Regions from separate parts of the Homo sapiens genome. Here all the other regions are linked to region 2. The links are contacts of gene promoters, found by promoter capture Hi-C in blood cells and fetal thymus (Javierre and others, 2016). All regions are on one chromosome and are shown on one strand. The core of a region is centred on a gene start or on the middle of the fragment in contact, and the rest is flanking DNA. Distances in the headings are between cores, read along the strand shown.

Evidence for each region. Contacts are between HindIII fragments. The CHiCAGO score rates a contact against its expected background, and 5 or more counts as called.
Region 1: a contact is called between a fragment that was not itself captured here and the fragment with the promoter of FSTL4 in region 2, in 2 of 17 cell types (endothelial precursors and M0 macrophages). The highest score is 6.1, in endothelial precursors.
Region 3: a fragment that was not itself captured here is called in contact with the fragment with the promoter of FSTL4 in region 2 in 1 of 17 cell types (M0 macrophages); the score reaches 5.2 in M0 macrophages.

What each region holds. Positions count from the first base shown.
Region 1 is chr5:133,432,536-133,437,287 of GRCh38, reverse strand. All of the region lies in intron 3 of FSTL4 (follistatin like 4), which reads left to right. Among named protein-coding and RNA genes, the nearest start is that of MIR1289-2, 7.2 kb to the right of the region's middle. The HindIII fragment of the contact is 1,111 bases long and covers 2,216-3,326 here.
Region 2 is chr5:133,610,593-133,615,237 of GRCh38, reverse strand. It overlaps FSTL4 (follistatin like 4), which reads left to right and starts at 2,697. Exons shown (of 16, transcript NM_015082.2): 1 at 2,697-2,913. RefSeq lists a silencer at 3,966-4,015. The HindIII fragment of the contact is 11,171 bases long and covers 454-4,645 here.
Region 3 is chr5:133,410,817-133,415,643 of GRCh38, reverse strand. The region is part of intron 3 of FSTL4 (follistatin like 4); the gene reads left to right. Among named protein-coding and RNA genes, the nearest start is that of MIR1289-2, 14 kb to the left of the region's middle. The HindIII fragment of the contact is 4,456 bases long and covers 310-4,765 here.

The DNA.
Region 1 (4,752 bases), core at 1,522-4,021, 180 kb after region 2:
ACCTCTGCTCTGATTTCCAGGCCAATATGTCCAACTGCCTACTTGACAAAGGCACTTGAGTGCCTCACCGGCAACTAAAACTCAGAATGTCCAAATCTAAACTCATGGTCTTTCCCCATCACTAACCTTCCTGCCAGAAAAACAAATAAACAACAACCCAAAAAAGCACCATTCTCCAACCAGTGCTTCTATCTCAGTAATTGGTACCACCCTTCATCCATCTTCCTAAGCCATAGATCTTTGAGCCATCTTTGTCACCTCTTTCTCCTGTAGCAACTCAATCCAATCCATCATTAATATTTTTGGCTCTAAATATTACACACATCTCAAATCCATTCACTTCTCTCTATCTCCAATACCACCACTCTAATTCAAAATACAGTTTTTTCTCAACAAGACTCTCATAATCACATCCTAACCAGTCTCCCTGCATTCTTTCTTGCTCCCCTGGAATCTGTTTTCCACCCAAATACCAGAGTGATTTCTTTTCAAAACACAATTGGTGATTATGTCAATCAGTGGTGTGCTGATAAATGTTTAACAACCGGTTCTCGGTGGGAAAAGTCCTAATTTATAGCATTTGCCAATTTCCGTAGTGTAAATACTACTACCGTGGATGACTTCAGTTGACCAGTCCAGTGATGTCATGGAACACAGAGTCGGGAAGAGATACGAATCATCTGCCCTTATAAATAGTAGTCTCCAGCATATCATTGCTTGTAAAACTTCTGCTTAAAACTGTTTAATAACTTCTCAATGCTTCTAGAATAAAGGCTCAAATTCTCAGCAGGATCCAAAAGATCCTGCATGGTCTGACCCTATTAACCTTTCTAGCCTCAACTCACACCATGTTCTCTTTGTTCTCCATGCCTAACCCCACTAACTGACAACACACTCCTTCCTGCCACAGGTCATCCTCCATCTGGAGCACTCCCACTGCCTCCCCCTTACCCAGTTTAGTTAACAAACACATCTTTTGGAGCTGAGCCCAAGTGTCCCCTCCTTAGGAAAGCCTTTCCTGAGCCAATTCCACCAAACTAAATTGTCCTTCCATTGTAAACTTTTGTAGCACTTAGCTCATAATGCCATATACCATAAAACATAGGCCACCATTGTAATTTTACATATACTTATGAAACTATTGGCTGATGTCTGTCTTTTATACTATACTTAGAATAAATACTATACTTAGAATACCCTCAGAAGAGGGTAAGCATTGTATTTTTTTGTGATTACCACTGTATTCTCTAGTGCCTAACACTTGGCATGTGGGAAGTATTAATACATTTCTGATGCATGAGAGAATGAAAAGACACACACTTAAAGCCAAATGGCATAAGGAGATTAAAGGAAAAAGAGTGGGCGAAGTTCTGTTTGTCAAAAACAAAAACAGAAAGCAAGGGTAGCAATTTAGAGGGGAAGTAGAATTCAAGGCAACAACACTAAATGAGAAAAAGGGATGCCATTTTATGGTGATAAAATCCATGAAGAAGATGCTGTGGTCATGGAGCTTTATGTACCAAATAACACAATATCAGTGATTACTGTTAGGAATAAAAGGAAAAATAGGAGCACAATCGTAGTGTGAGAGTTTAACATACCAGTAGAACTGAACAGAAAGGCCAGGAGCAAACCTTAGAACATAGTGCTAACCTAACACAGCATTTCAAAACTGTGAGAAAAAGGATCATCAGTTATTTTCAAATGGTACTGGGCCAAATGATTAAGTATTTGTTTTAATAAGGTGGATGACTTCATATTGCAGTTGGATATGGTGGCTCTTCTAAAGCACTTGTCCCAAAACGCTCTTACACGACATTAATAAACATAACAAGAAAAGGATTCTGGAGTCAAATACATCTGCAAAACACCATGGTAAGCAAAGTTAAGCAGATATTTTTATTGCAGGACTTTTAACCATCTTTGGTGCTACTGTGCATGCTACAATCCCAAGAGGGAACTATAGCACATGCTATTCCCAGAATTACTTGAGTATTTTGTGAGACTGGTGTTTCATGTTCTGCAGAAATCACTTGGGAAATGGTGGCTTAAAAAGTTAAATAAAACACATAAAATCATAAAAGACCTCAAATAAATATGAGCAGATATTTTTGTACTTTTACTAAGGTGAGTGGGGCTTTCCTAAACCACATAAAAAAGGAAGATACAATTAGAGACATGGTTGATATATTTGATGACATAAAATCTTTAAGCTTCTGTATATCATAAGGCAAATGAAAAACTGGGGAAAAATAGTTGGAGTTATGAATGACTTTACTATAGAAAGAGCTCCTAGTAATCAATAAAAAAGATGACCATCCACATAGAAAAGTTTGTGAAGAACATGAACAGAGGGCACACACACACACAGACATTCACATCCATCCACCAAATACACATCATTATTAAATATTAGATTCTGAACCTTCCTAATAATCAAAATAAGGCAAATTAAAACAGTTAACAATATATTTTTGGCCATGAAATCAGCAATTTTTAATGATAAAATTCAGTTTTAGCAAGGATAGAGTGAAAGGGGACTCTCAAATGTAGCCAATGAAAATATAAAATGGCACCAACTCTGTGGCCAGTAATTTGGCAGTACTTATTTATTAAGTCTCTTTTTAAACATGCTTTTGATTCAGTAATTCCACTTCAGGCAATTTATCACAAGGAAAAAAATCAGAGATTGCCTAAAGATTTATGTTCAGGGATGTTTACTGTAGCTTTGTTTGTCAAAGCAGAAGTTTTGGAAGCAGCCCAAATGTCAAGCAGTGACTGGTTAAAGGAAATATGGTGTGCCCCATATGATGAGATATTATTCAGTCATTAAAAATTATGACTTGTGGAAATAGTCACAAAAAGAATGTTAAGTTTAAAAGCATGATATAAAACTACTTCCAGATTCCAATTTTATAAAGTACATATGTATATTTATGTAACTGGAAAAGACTAAGGTGAAATATAGTAAAATGTGGAGTTATTCTCTCTGAAAAACATTCCATTTATTTTATAACATTCCCCCACAGCTCCTCATCTAATCCATCAAACCAAGTCTTATCAACTCTACTTCCAAAGCGCACCTTGAGTCTCGTCTGCTTCTCTCATCACCACTACTATGCCCTAGTCAAAGCCACCATCATCTTTCATCTTTAGAAACTTAGAAGCCTCCCATTGGTCTCCCTCCCTCCCCTTTTGCCCCGTTGCAGACCAATCTCCATGCAATAGCCATAGTAATCTGTTTTCAATGTAAATCAGATTGTATTACCTTCTGCTTAAAACCCTCCAGGGCTTTCCCATCACACCTTGAAAAAAAATCCTAAGCTTTTCCCTTTGCCATGGCTCGGAGGCCCCTGGAATCCCACTGCTGCCTCCCTATCTGACCTCATCTCCTGCCACGCTCCCTTCCCGCCTTGCTTCAGCCTTTCTAGCCTCCCCTCTTGGCCCAGACACCTGCACTGGCCTTGACACCAGCTCTTCCCTCTGCCTGCCGTGCTTCCCCCAGCTCTTTACAGAGCTGACTTCTCCTGAGGTCTCAGCTTAAATCCACCTCCTCCAAGAGGCCTCCTGATCACCCAGAGTTGCCACCCTGACTTTACCTATCGAATCAATGTATTTTAATTGTCTGCACTCACGACCATCTGATTTTTTTTCTTAACTGACTCCTTTCTGTATTGTCTAAGCTTTGCCCATGAGAATATAAATTCCATTGCAGGCTGCTATATTCACTTAGAACACTGCCTGGCACTTAGTAGGCAATAAATGCTTGCCACATGAATGAAATAGAAATCAAACCAAAAACATTTCATTGAAACTGAAAAAGGTAAATCATGCCAAACAGCTTGACTTACTAACAGTGCTCAAAAAAATCAAATACTTTGGAAAATCTCCAGGCTTGAAGGGGTGCCCTACCCTTGCGTGGGTACCCCGTTGCCAGTTAGTGGGTAATCCTTCCCCCGTCTAACCCACCAGACCAGAAAATGACACTAATATGGACAGGCAGGTGGAATGGATTTGCACAGTATCCCTTACTTCAAAAACAAATAGGACTATTAAGCTTTTGCAGGTCTCTGGGGAACTTGTCCAGGTTTTGGTGAATTCCAATGAGCTCTAGTTTTAAACATGCAGGATTTCAGCTCTGGCTTTTAGTTCACTGAAAAAGAGAACAGCTTAGATTTTCTTTGCCTTGCAACTCCTGAAATTTCTCTTTCCTTCTTTGACAGCCTGAGGAGTCAGGGGCAGAGAGAATAGAGGAGCCAGATGCCTTTTAATGAGAAAGAACCCAAGAAGCCTTCTGCACTCTCTTTGTAAGCCATTTCTTAGTACTGCTTAAAAGATCTGGGCCATGCCACACATAGCAAGGCACAGAAGCATATGAAAAATTGCCAGATTTAGTGCTTGTGGCTTGGGGTGTACTGCAAGGATCTCTAAAGATGGAGATTTGTTATGTTGCTGTGGATAAATTTGAATCAAGTGTAATCCAATGCTGCTGTGTGAAAATCAGTCAGTTACCAAGTGAGTGGGCCTCGCCAGCCACCCACCCACCCAGCATCCTATCTTCCATAGGTTTCCACTTGACACTGGAATATAAGATTTGTAAGGAGCAGATTTCTGCCTATTTGGTTTACCACCAAATCCCTGGTGCCTAGAACAGCACATGCAGATAGCAGATGCCCAATAAATAATTGTTGAATAAGTTAAAGGAGAAGTAATATTTTCCCCATTTACTGAGCACTCACTGTGTGCCTCACC
Region 2 (4,645 bases), core at 1,448-3,947:
CTTCCCAGTCTGGCTTCTAATGGGTATTTCTAGGCACTGTTTGACCAGCCTAGTGGGGACTCCCAAGGGTAAGCTGACCCACAGTTAGTGATGCAGATACTTTTGGTTGGATCTGGAGAAAGTGCCTTGCTTCCTCCTGATTCCCATGGCTATGTGTCATCTCTGAGTATCCTGATATGCAGGTGTAATCTGAAATGTCCTAAGAGACACACATCATTTGGCAGTAGTTTTTCATTATATTGTTGTGTTTTTGGTAAGGATTAGAAATAGAAAAAAGATTTTAAACCAGCAACGTAAAAAAATATTTGGGTTGCTTAAACTTTTTGATCTTGTAAAAGTATATTAATAATGTTTTTATGTGTGTCTCTGGCTGAACCACTCACCAAAAACAGAGTGGGGCTGGGGGGCAGTAACTGGAATTTATGTTTCCTTTTAGCTCCCCTATTCCAAGCTTATTGAATTACATGAAGTTCAAAACTTAACCATTATTTCCCCTAAGAATCCTAGTTGGCTATTGAGAATCAGTATGCTTGCAAGTTCTGAAACAGGGTTTCAGGCAAATTTTGAAATTCTCAGTGTGAAATCTAGCCTATTTTCCAATTTGGGGTGTACTATTAAACAAAAAATTACACTGAGAGGTAAAAGCACAGAGCAATTCAAAGAGGTGTCAAGGTTACTGGCATCTGATGCTGCTTCCCTGGAGCCTTGTTTTATTTTGTCATTCACACTTCACCTTTCTCATTCCGAGGTGACTTTTAATTTCACTCTTATTTTATGCACAGTAGTTAAACAGCTCACTTCAGATGTTAGCATTCTCTCTAAGGAATATTCCATACATCTGGTTTGCAGCAACTACCTTCTTCTCCTTCTTTGGGAAGCGTGTAGAAGTTCAGTGCCTGTTCACTGCATTAAACAGAGCTATTTCTGATCTTGGTCAACCTATAGACCCTGATTTACATATGACCTTGAGTTACTAAAAAACAAAAAATACACAAAGTCCTGCTTTGATTATGTAATAAGGCCACTAGGTTGACTCAGGGACTTTGTGATCAGAGCTGAGAATAGAAATCTGCTTTTCCAAATACCTCATGTCTTAGAGGAGAGCCGAATCCAGCCTCTAAGCCATGGTGTACGTTCCTGACCACAGACTTAGAATTACATTTCAGAGGGAGGCACAGCACATTTCCAAACTTCCCTGCTTCCTTTTATACTCATTTTCTCTTTTCTGTTTCCCAAGATGAAAAGTGCCATCCCTTCCCCAGTCCTGCCATGGAGAATCTGGCCCCTAGCCAGCCCCAGAAGTTCAGTCATGGTGGCCTTGGCAAAGATTCATAGTCAAATCTGAGAGAGGATCACACTGGCTAGGGCCCAGGGTCACTGAGGATGTAGTAGCCTTTATCCTTCTGAGTAAAAATCATGGTATCCACATGGGAAGTCAACCAGGTTTTGTCCAACCCCTCATTTTACAAGTGGGGAAACTGATACCTACAGTAGAGATACGATTGGCTCTGCATTACATAGCTTGGCAGTGATAGAGGGAGAGCTGGACCCCAGACCAAAACTGTGTGATGCCAAGACCGCGCTGGCCCATTCACTGCTGTATCTCTAGCAACTATTAATAGCACAGTGCCTGCTGCATTGGAGGGGTTCAGCGGCAGGAAAATCTGTGGAAGGAAAAAACAAACGTAATATCTCTTTCTTCAGGTCAGCCTTCCATTATTCTTCCCCTTTTCCTTATATTTAACTAACTTCATCCTCAGAAAAATCCCCTCTGTCACCTCCCCCCGGCCAGGAGAGATTACAGAGGCATGGACAGAACACTGTTCACCTAAGCCAGGAAGGCCCCTGGTGCCCACGCAGCCAGAGCAGGAGGCAGGCCCTCAGAAAGTCTCCTGGCCATCAGCCTGGCCTGGGTAGGGGCTCCCTCCTAAGTTTCCTGCCAGACTGAGGCTACGTATGACCATTTATGGGCCCCTAGTTGTTACAAAGGTGTTTCCAGTTCATTCGGGAAGGAAGACTGATCTCAAAAGCTGCTGATGTTAAAGAGGGATTCAGAAAAGTTTGGGAGCCCCAGGCTTGGGGATGGGATCAGGATGGGGAAATATCCTGTTCTAAGGGAGAAGGGACCCTCTGGGCCCAGCTAGGTCAGGTAGGCAAATGTCACTTGGGATTGCCCCTGTATGCCCTGAATGTCTTAAGATTCTGTAGTTGGAAGAGGGAAGATTCAGAAAAGAGAAAACCTTTGCTGTTTCCCAGGTTGTTGGGTCTCAACGGCGGGGGATTTCACCCACTTTGTCCCCAGGGACAGCTCTCCTGCTGTGGTGTACCGGCCCGCCTGGACTCCACGAGCAATGGCCGCGGATTCAGAGACCCCCTGTGCGCCTGGAGAGCACAGCTTTGGGGAACCTGGCCCGGAAAGGAGCCTGGAGGAGAGCAGAGGTGAAGAGGGGCTGTCACTTGCCGAGCTCCACGCTAGCCAGAGGCAGGAGCGCTACGCTGGCCCTCCTCCCTCCGGGCCCTAGATGGCCCCAGCGCTCCGGAGTCATCGCGCCCCGCGTGCGCGCCCGCCTGCTCCGCGCACCTGCCGTGGCCGCCGCGCGGGTCTGACCGGCTGGCGGGCGGGCGGCGCGCACAGGTGGCGGCGATTGGGCAGGCGGGGCCCAGAGGGTGACGTCACGGGCTCCGGTCCCGGCGGCAGAAATAGGGCAGCCGCGGCGGCGGTGGCACAGCAGCGGGCAGCGGCGGCTCAGGGAGCTGGAGCCTCAACAGCCTCCAGCGAGCCCGGGACCCGCCGACAGCCCGAGAAACCAGCCGAAGGACGCGGGGCGGGGTCGCCGCCGCCGCCACGGGGTGCTCCCTCCCTCCCGCCCAAGTCCGGCCACCTGGTCTTCCCCTCGGCCCCGGCCGTCTCAGGTACGCGGGCGCAGCTCCCAGCGGGCGCGGGGAGGGTGCCATGTCGCTGGCGCCGCCACCAGCCGGTCCCGCTGCACCCCACTGGGGTCCTGGCGCCCGCGGCCCCGCATCTTGCTGCAGGGCCCGGCGCGGGCGCTTGCTTGTCCTTACTGCCCGCGCCGGGAAAGCCAAGTTTGCCCGCGGGGAAGGGACCGCTGGGCCAGGGCTCGGCAGGGCTACCCCGGCCAAGGCCAGGACTCGAGGAGAGGCTGGGACGCCGAGGCTCGTGGCCGGGGTCTACGGTGGGGACCGGAGTGACCCGGTTGGCACGCGGGGCGCCACGCAGAAGCGCTCGGGCCGAGCCCGCAGCTCGCGCCCGGCTCCGAAATCCTGCAGGCGCCGTTCTTGGGTTCAGGACCCCGAGCGGCCCCGGCGGAGCCAGGCGAGCGCGGCCCCTCGGCCCGGGCCCGGTGCCCTTGGCTCCGGGTTGGGGCGCCGGGCAGGCATTCTCAGCACCTCCTCCCCGCGGCTTTGCGGGGAAACTTGCGTCTCCTCGCTGCAGCCCAAAGGGCCCGCTGCGCTTCGCCTGGCCCTGGCTTCCCCGGGGTCCGCCGCATGTGAGGCTGGGGAGGAAGGAATCAGGGCACGACCCGACTCCAGGCAGCCTGCGGCGCTGCTTGTGCGTAGCCGGCCGCGGTCCAGAGTGAGCGGCCCGGGGTACCCGCTTGAACGTGTCTAGGGAGCAGTGTGTTGGGGGCGTTCAGCGTTCGGGCTGGGGGCTTGGTCCTAAGAGAGCTTGCACTGTGGATGATCTCCGCCCTCTTTGCGCCCGCAAAACAAAGACGAGTTCTGAGTTTCAGGAGGGACCTGGACGAGGCAGGCACAGCACTCTGCTTTCGGCGCCTGTCGCCTCGAGTTTGGGGACGAGCTGACGCTAGTCTTTGGGGCTCCCTGCAGCCGACAAAGCGGCGCCAACCCCAGGCCTGCCACCTGAGGACTTTGTGCCCGCAACTCTTGCGGGAGCGGAAAGCCGCCGAGGCAGTGGGGTTTCTTGTTTTCCAGAGCGCGGCGAGCCTCCGCGCGGCGCGGCAAGTGCACTAGGAGTGCGCGGGTCAGCGGGGCGGGCCCGGCGAGGTCGGTGTCGCGGCTCGAGAGCGGGTGCCGGGGCGCTGTCCAGCAGCCCTCGCTCGCGGCCGCGGGCCGCCGACACTGATGAATGGCGCGGCCACAGCCCGCCGCTCCCCTCTAGGTGTCGCTTCCGCCGAGCTTTCCTCCAGTGAAAAACAGCGCCGGCAGCTTGGTCTGTTACCTTCGTAAATTTGTTGCAAGCCTGTGCACCAGGAATTGTACTAGATGGGGCCCCCGAGATACAAACATCCGTCCAGGTTCTCTGGGCCAAACGTAAACAGAATTTCAATAGGTGGTGAAGTAACTGCCAGCCAAAATGTTCACCGGGAATGGGCCTGTGTCACAATCTGTGAGGGGAAAAGACGGATCAGTGAGCGACTAGGACTCTTCTTGAAAGTCCTAAGTTATTTTCCTACTGCCAAATTTAGGGGAAACCAGCGATGCTTTTTAATAGTGTCTTCTTAATCCTGGGAGCCAGGCGCCAGTTTCTGTGCCTGCCCCTCTGGCCCCCAGGACAGACTCTGGGTCTGGTTGGCGGGGGGTCCACCTGGGAAGGGAATGGTCGGAGGTGTGAGTGATGCAGCTTCTGAGACTCCAGAGCCACAGCAACTCTCAGGCAGGAGCT
Region 3 (4,827 bases), core at 1,288-3,787, 200 kb after region 2:
TTGTGATGTCCCTTTCCTCGTGGTGGCTTTGACCCCCACTTGGCCACCACCATGCTCTGCCACCTCCTCTTTACTATGACTTTTTGAAGATAAAACATAGTTAGAATCTCCTCTCCTTGGAATTAAAAAAAGGTGAAAGTCATTCTTATGTGTTTAGAGTTGAAATCTAAGTATATTAACAAGAATCAAAAATAATTTAGTTTTGGTTAATGTGACCTGCTCAGAAGAATATTTTGATTTTTAAGATTGTCTAATTTTGCCACCATAAGTAAGACTGAGCCAGTACTTAGAATGACTTTTGTCCAAGCTTTAGGTGGAAATACATCAACGACAGTGGAGGGTAAAGCCTTCACTTTCGGATGCTACCATCTCAGGAGAGCCGGACAGTCAAACAGGCTTGTCCTGACCAACATAGATGAGAGATCAGATGACATTATAGGTCGAGACCCACACTGTGGTGGGCCTGCCTAAAGCAAGGCATTGCCTGCTCAGAAGATACTTCAAACTCAACTCAGTCTTTTGATTTCTTCTATCAGAAGTGGCTCAAAAGGAACTAGTCACTGACCTTGTATTTGTAGCCAGCCACATCTACATATCGAAGAAAGAAAGTACTGATGCTAAGGGCTTCTAAGTTGGGTTTGGAGGTGGAAGAGAGGTGCATAGGTTATTGGTAACAAATGTGTCCATTTTTTTCCTCCATTGTATCCCATTAATAGGCTTCTCTTTATTGTTTAAATTCCTGGTGGCAGGAGAGTTTAAACTTGCTTTTAACATGCAGGTGGGCTCAGGAAAATGAAAATAGGCTGTCTGGCAATAACCCAGGCTCCTAGGGTTCTTCTGCAATAGGAATTGTTCTTGTCTCTTCTCCAAAGGGCTAAATGGTGCCGTGTTGAAAATAATACCCCGGTATTTACCTCGAAGTGTTTCTTTAATTGTTGGATTCTGTTTTTAAAAGTCATAATCTGACTTTTGCCTCTGGCAACATAGCAGATAAATATTTTTTAAAATCCTTTTAAACACTGATGTGCTTGGTAAGAAAATAAGGACTACCTAGAGGCTAAAAATACAAGTGAAATCAGGAATCCAGAGAGGTAAGATAGCTGTGAGACTGACTTTACCTTGAGGGCTTTTGCCAAACTAGGTGAACGTTGGTTTTGGTTTACATACCCTCCGTGGCTCAGGATACCAAGGACAAATCCCAGGGTCCTTCCGAGGTAGGCATATGTGGAAGGTTCCCACTCCCAGTCCCCTATATATATACACCTGGGCCCCTCAAGTGCTATATCTGCAGTGTAAGGGTGAACAAGAAAGAAAGAAATCCACCCAGTCCCAAGGACTGGCAAGAAAATGTTCCTGCCTCAAATCTTGGCACTGAGTAGACAGAGAGAAATTTCCTTGAAAATGTATAACCATAGACTGATCGCCAGAAGGAATTGTAGCTCATATGCAAACTACCTGAGTAACCTGAAAAATCTCAAACATAAAATTTAGTTTAACCCAGAATGGTGGAGTCCTTGGGTGCCCGGCACAATCAAGAAGAGCCTATATCCAAACTATATCTCAAAAAATTTTCACAGATTATATTCCAGAAAATGTGAGCTCTTTTAAAAAGAAATCAAAACACCAAAAGGAGAATGCCATGTAAGAACCAACAAAATCTGTGAATAACAAAATGATACCGAATATAAAATATGTATATTTAATATTTTTTAAAAATTAAAAATATGATTGAAAATCAAGAGATTATACAAATGGCCAATCATCTTTATGAATGGCTAAAAAGAACTTCTGAAAATTCAAAATTCAAAACTCAGTGGAAGAGTGTAACAGTAGGTTAGAAATAGCTGAAGAGTTAATTTAAGAGCTGGAAGACGGATTTGAAAAATTATACAGAATGCAACATAGAAAAACCAAAGATGGGAAATGCGAAAGAGATAAGAGATACTTAAATAGAATGAAAATTTGTAGCATATTTCTAATTAGAATACCTGGAAAAGAGGGAGAAAAATAATGGAATAGAGATACCATTTAATGGAAGATAGGTAAGGATGTTCAAGAACTGATGAAAGATAGAAATCCTCACTTTCAGGAAACCTGATGAATTATAAGCAGAATAAATGCAAAGAAATATGTGTGTTTGCATCACAGAGAAATTGCAGAAAACCAGAGAAGATGTTAAAATTATCCAGACATCAAAAATGGATTACCTATAAGGGAATGAAAAGGCTATCAGGTAACATCTCAACAAAGCCAGAGGGCAGGGGAACAAAAGGTTTATCAAGTTGAAAGAAAAAAAATACACGAACATAAGAGTAATTACACAGCATAAAAAACTCTTTAAAATTAGGATAAAATAGACATTTTAGACAAACATAAAGAGAATTTGAGGTATAAGAAGGAATTATGAGGAATAAAGACAGACTCACAATATACAGTATTGTCATATAGTTACGTCAGGAAAGGTTCTAAGGTGTTCTAAGGTTCTTCATGGGGAGGGTTAAAGTGTTGATTATAGACTTTGGCTTAATTATACATTTTAAAATTTGAGATAAACAGTAGAAGAATAAAAGAGATATTTAATTTTTATATGAGCAGAAGAAGAAAATCAGGGTGAAGTATTTGATTCAAAATAAGGAACCAAAAGAGAGAAAGAGGACCACAGAAAAAGGCAAATAAACAATCTAATATAAACTAAATAAATAACATGTTTATGTGGGGGTACTATAAGGACAATGAATGAATCACCACTATATGCAGACATGGGTGTAACTAAATATCGTGGGAGAGCAAAAGAAGAAAGTCTCTGATGAGTACATAGAGTGTGATTCATTTATATAAAGTTCAAAAACATGGAAAACAACATACTGCATAGAAATACAAAGGTGAGATAAACCAAAAGAATGATAAACACAAAATTCAGGCTAATGACGGTCTCTGTGTGGCAATGAGGGAATAGAACTGGAGAGGGACACATGGGAAAATTCAAAATGAAAGACACCGTTCTTTTTCTTTAAATGAATGGATTCATCCGTTTGTTGTACGATAATGCTTAAGCCATCCATAGAGTGGATAAGTGTTCTTTTCTGTCTACTCATTATTTAATAGAAATAATTTAAACATTTATAGTTATTCAAATTTGATTTTTTGTGTGGTGTGAAATAGGTTTCCAATGTTGTTTCATTCTAGGTGGATAGCAGGTTGCCCCAGCATCATCTATCAGAGAGCTATCATTTTCCCATTGGAGTGGTAACTCTTATTATACATCTAATTTTCATATACATTGGCATTTATTTCTGGATCCTGTTTTCTATTTTATTGCCAAATCTGCAGTCACTGATTTGCCTTTTCCTAGGTTGATCTCATATTGATTTTATCACAGCAGCTTTCTGGGTTGAATGTTCTAGTATCTGGGAAGGCACATCCCCCTACAGTATTCTTTCTCTTATTTTCCTTGGTTATCTGGGGGCACTTATTACTTCAAATGAACTTTTTAAGATCATTTCATCTAAGTCTAAAATGATTGCATTAAATTTGTGTATTTATGAGAATGTCTTCCTACCCACGAATAAGCAATGTTCCAATCTTATTTTATGACCTTCAATAGGGTTTTACAGCCATTTTTTATATAGGTCCTATGGCTTTCTTGTCAAATTTGTTTACTAATATTTTATGGTTTTTACCATGATTATGAGTAGGTGGTTTTTCCGTTTTTCACCTCTAATTATTTATTGCTACTGTTGAGAGGAATGATTAATTTTGGCATATTTATCATCTGTCCAACTAGTTTCATAATTCTCTTATAATTTTAATATTTTTTCACTGGAGTCTCTTGGATTTCTAAGTATACAGATACATAATCATCAAAAAGAGATCGTTGTTAGCTGTCTTTCTTTTCCAAATGTTAATGATTATTTCATTGTCTTGTCTTATTATACTTCCTTTATGAATAAGAATGATGATAACAAATATCCCTGTCTGGCTCCTGATTTTAATTGGAAACAGTTAGTGATTGGCTATTTAAGGAGTTTTCTTCTATTTCTTTGTCCTTAGAGTTTTAAATGGAATTATTACTGTATTTTAAGACTTTCTTTATTTCTATTTTCACTCTAGGTTTTGAGATATGTCTTCTTCTTGACCTTGGAAGACTGGAGTCTTAATAGTGACCATTGTCTCCTTAAATTGCCCTGATATTCTTAACCTTGGAAGACTTGACATCTCAATAGTGACCATTATCTCCTTAAATTCTTTCCTGAAATTCTCCTGATTTTCTTGTTGGCTCAAAAATCATAGTTCCCCCAAAAGCCTTCTTTGTGCTGTGCTTGATTCTCGTGGCATTTTGGTATTTTGTTGTCACTATTTAAGGTGTCACTCCTCCTCTGCAGTAGCTGTAATTCTAGTCATTTTTTCAGAGGCTGGAGCTCCCAGTGTATATGGTTCTTTTCCATAGCCTGTTTGAAGGCAACACTGAAGTACCTTAAGGCAGTGGTGGTCTCACAGAGAGTACCTGATAGGGCAATTGCTGACCCTGTGAGCTTCTCATAGAAGTAGACAGGTTGTCAGGCCCCAGTGGAGACCCCTGGTCTCCACATGCTCTTCTGTACTCAGGGGTAGAGCAGACCAGCCCACCCATGCATTCAGGAAAGCCAGCTTCCCAGAACCCTCAGGCCCACCTGTCAGAGGCCTCAGCCACTGCTTGGCTCGGTTGAGCCAGGGGATTGAAGTTGAGAATAGATGAAATCAGATTGTCCGATATTGTTACTAAGCTTTGTCTTGATATTATCCAGTGCATGTTTTTATGGCTGATAATCCCGTTGAGAGACAAGGGCA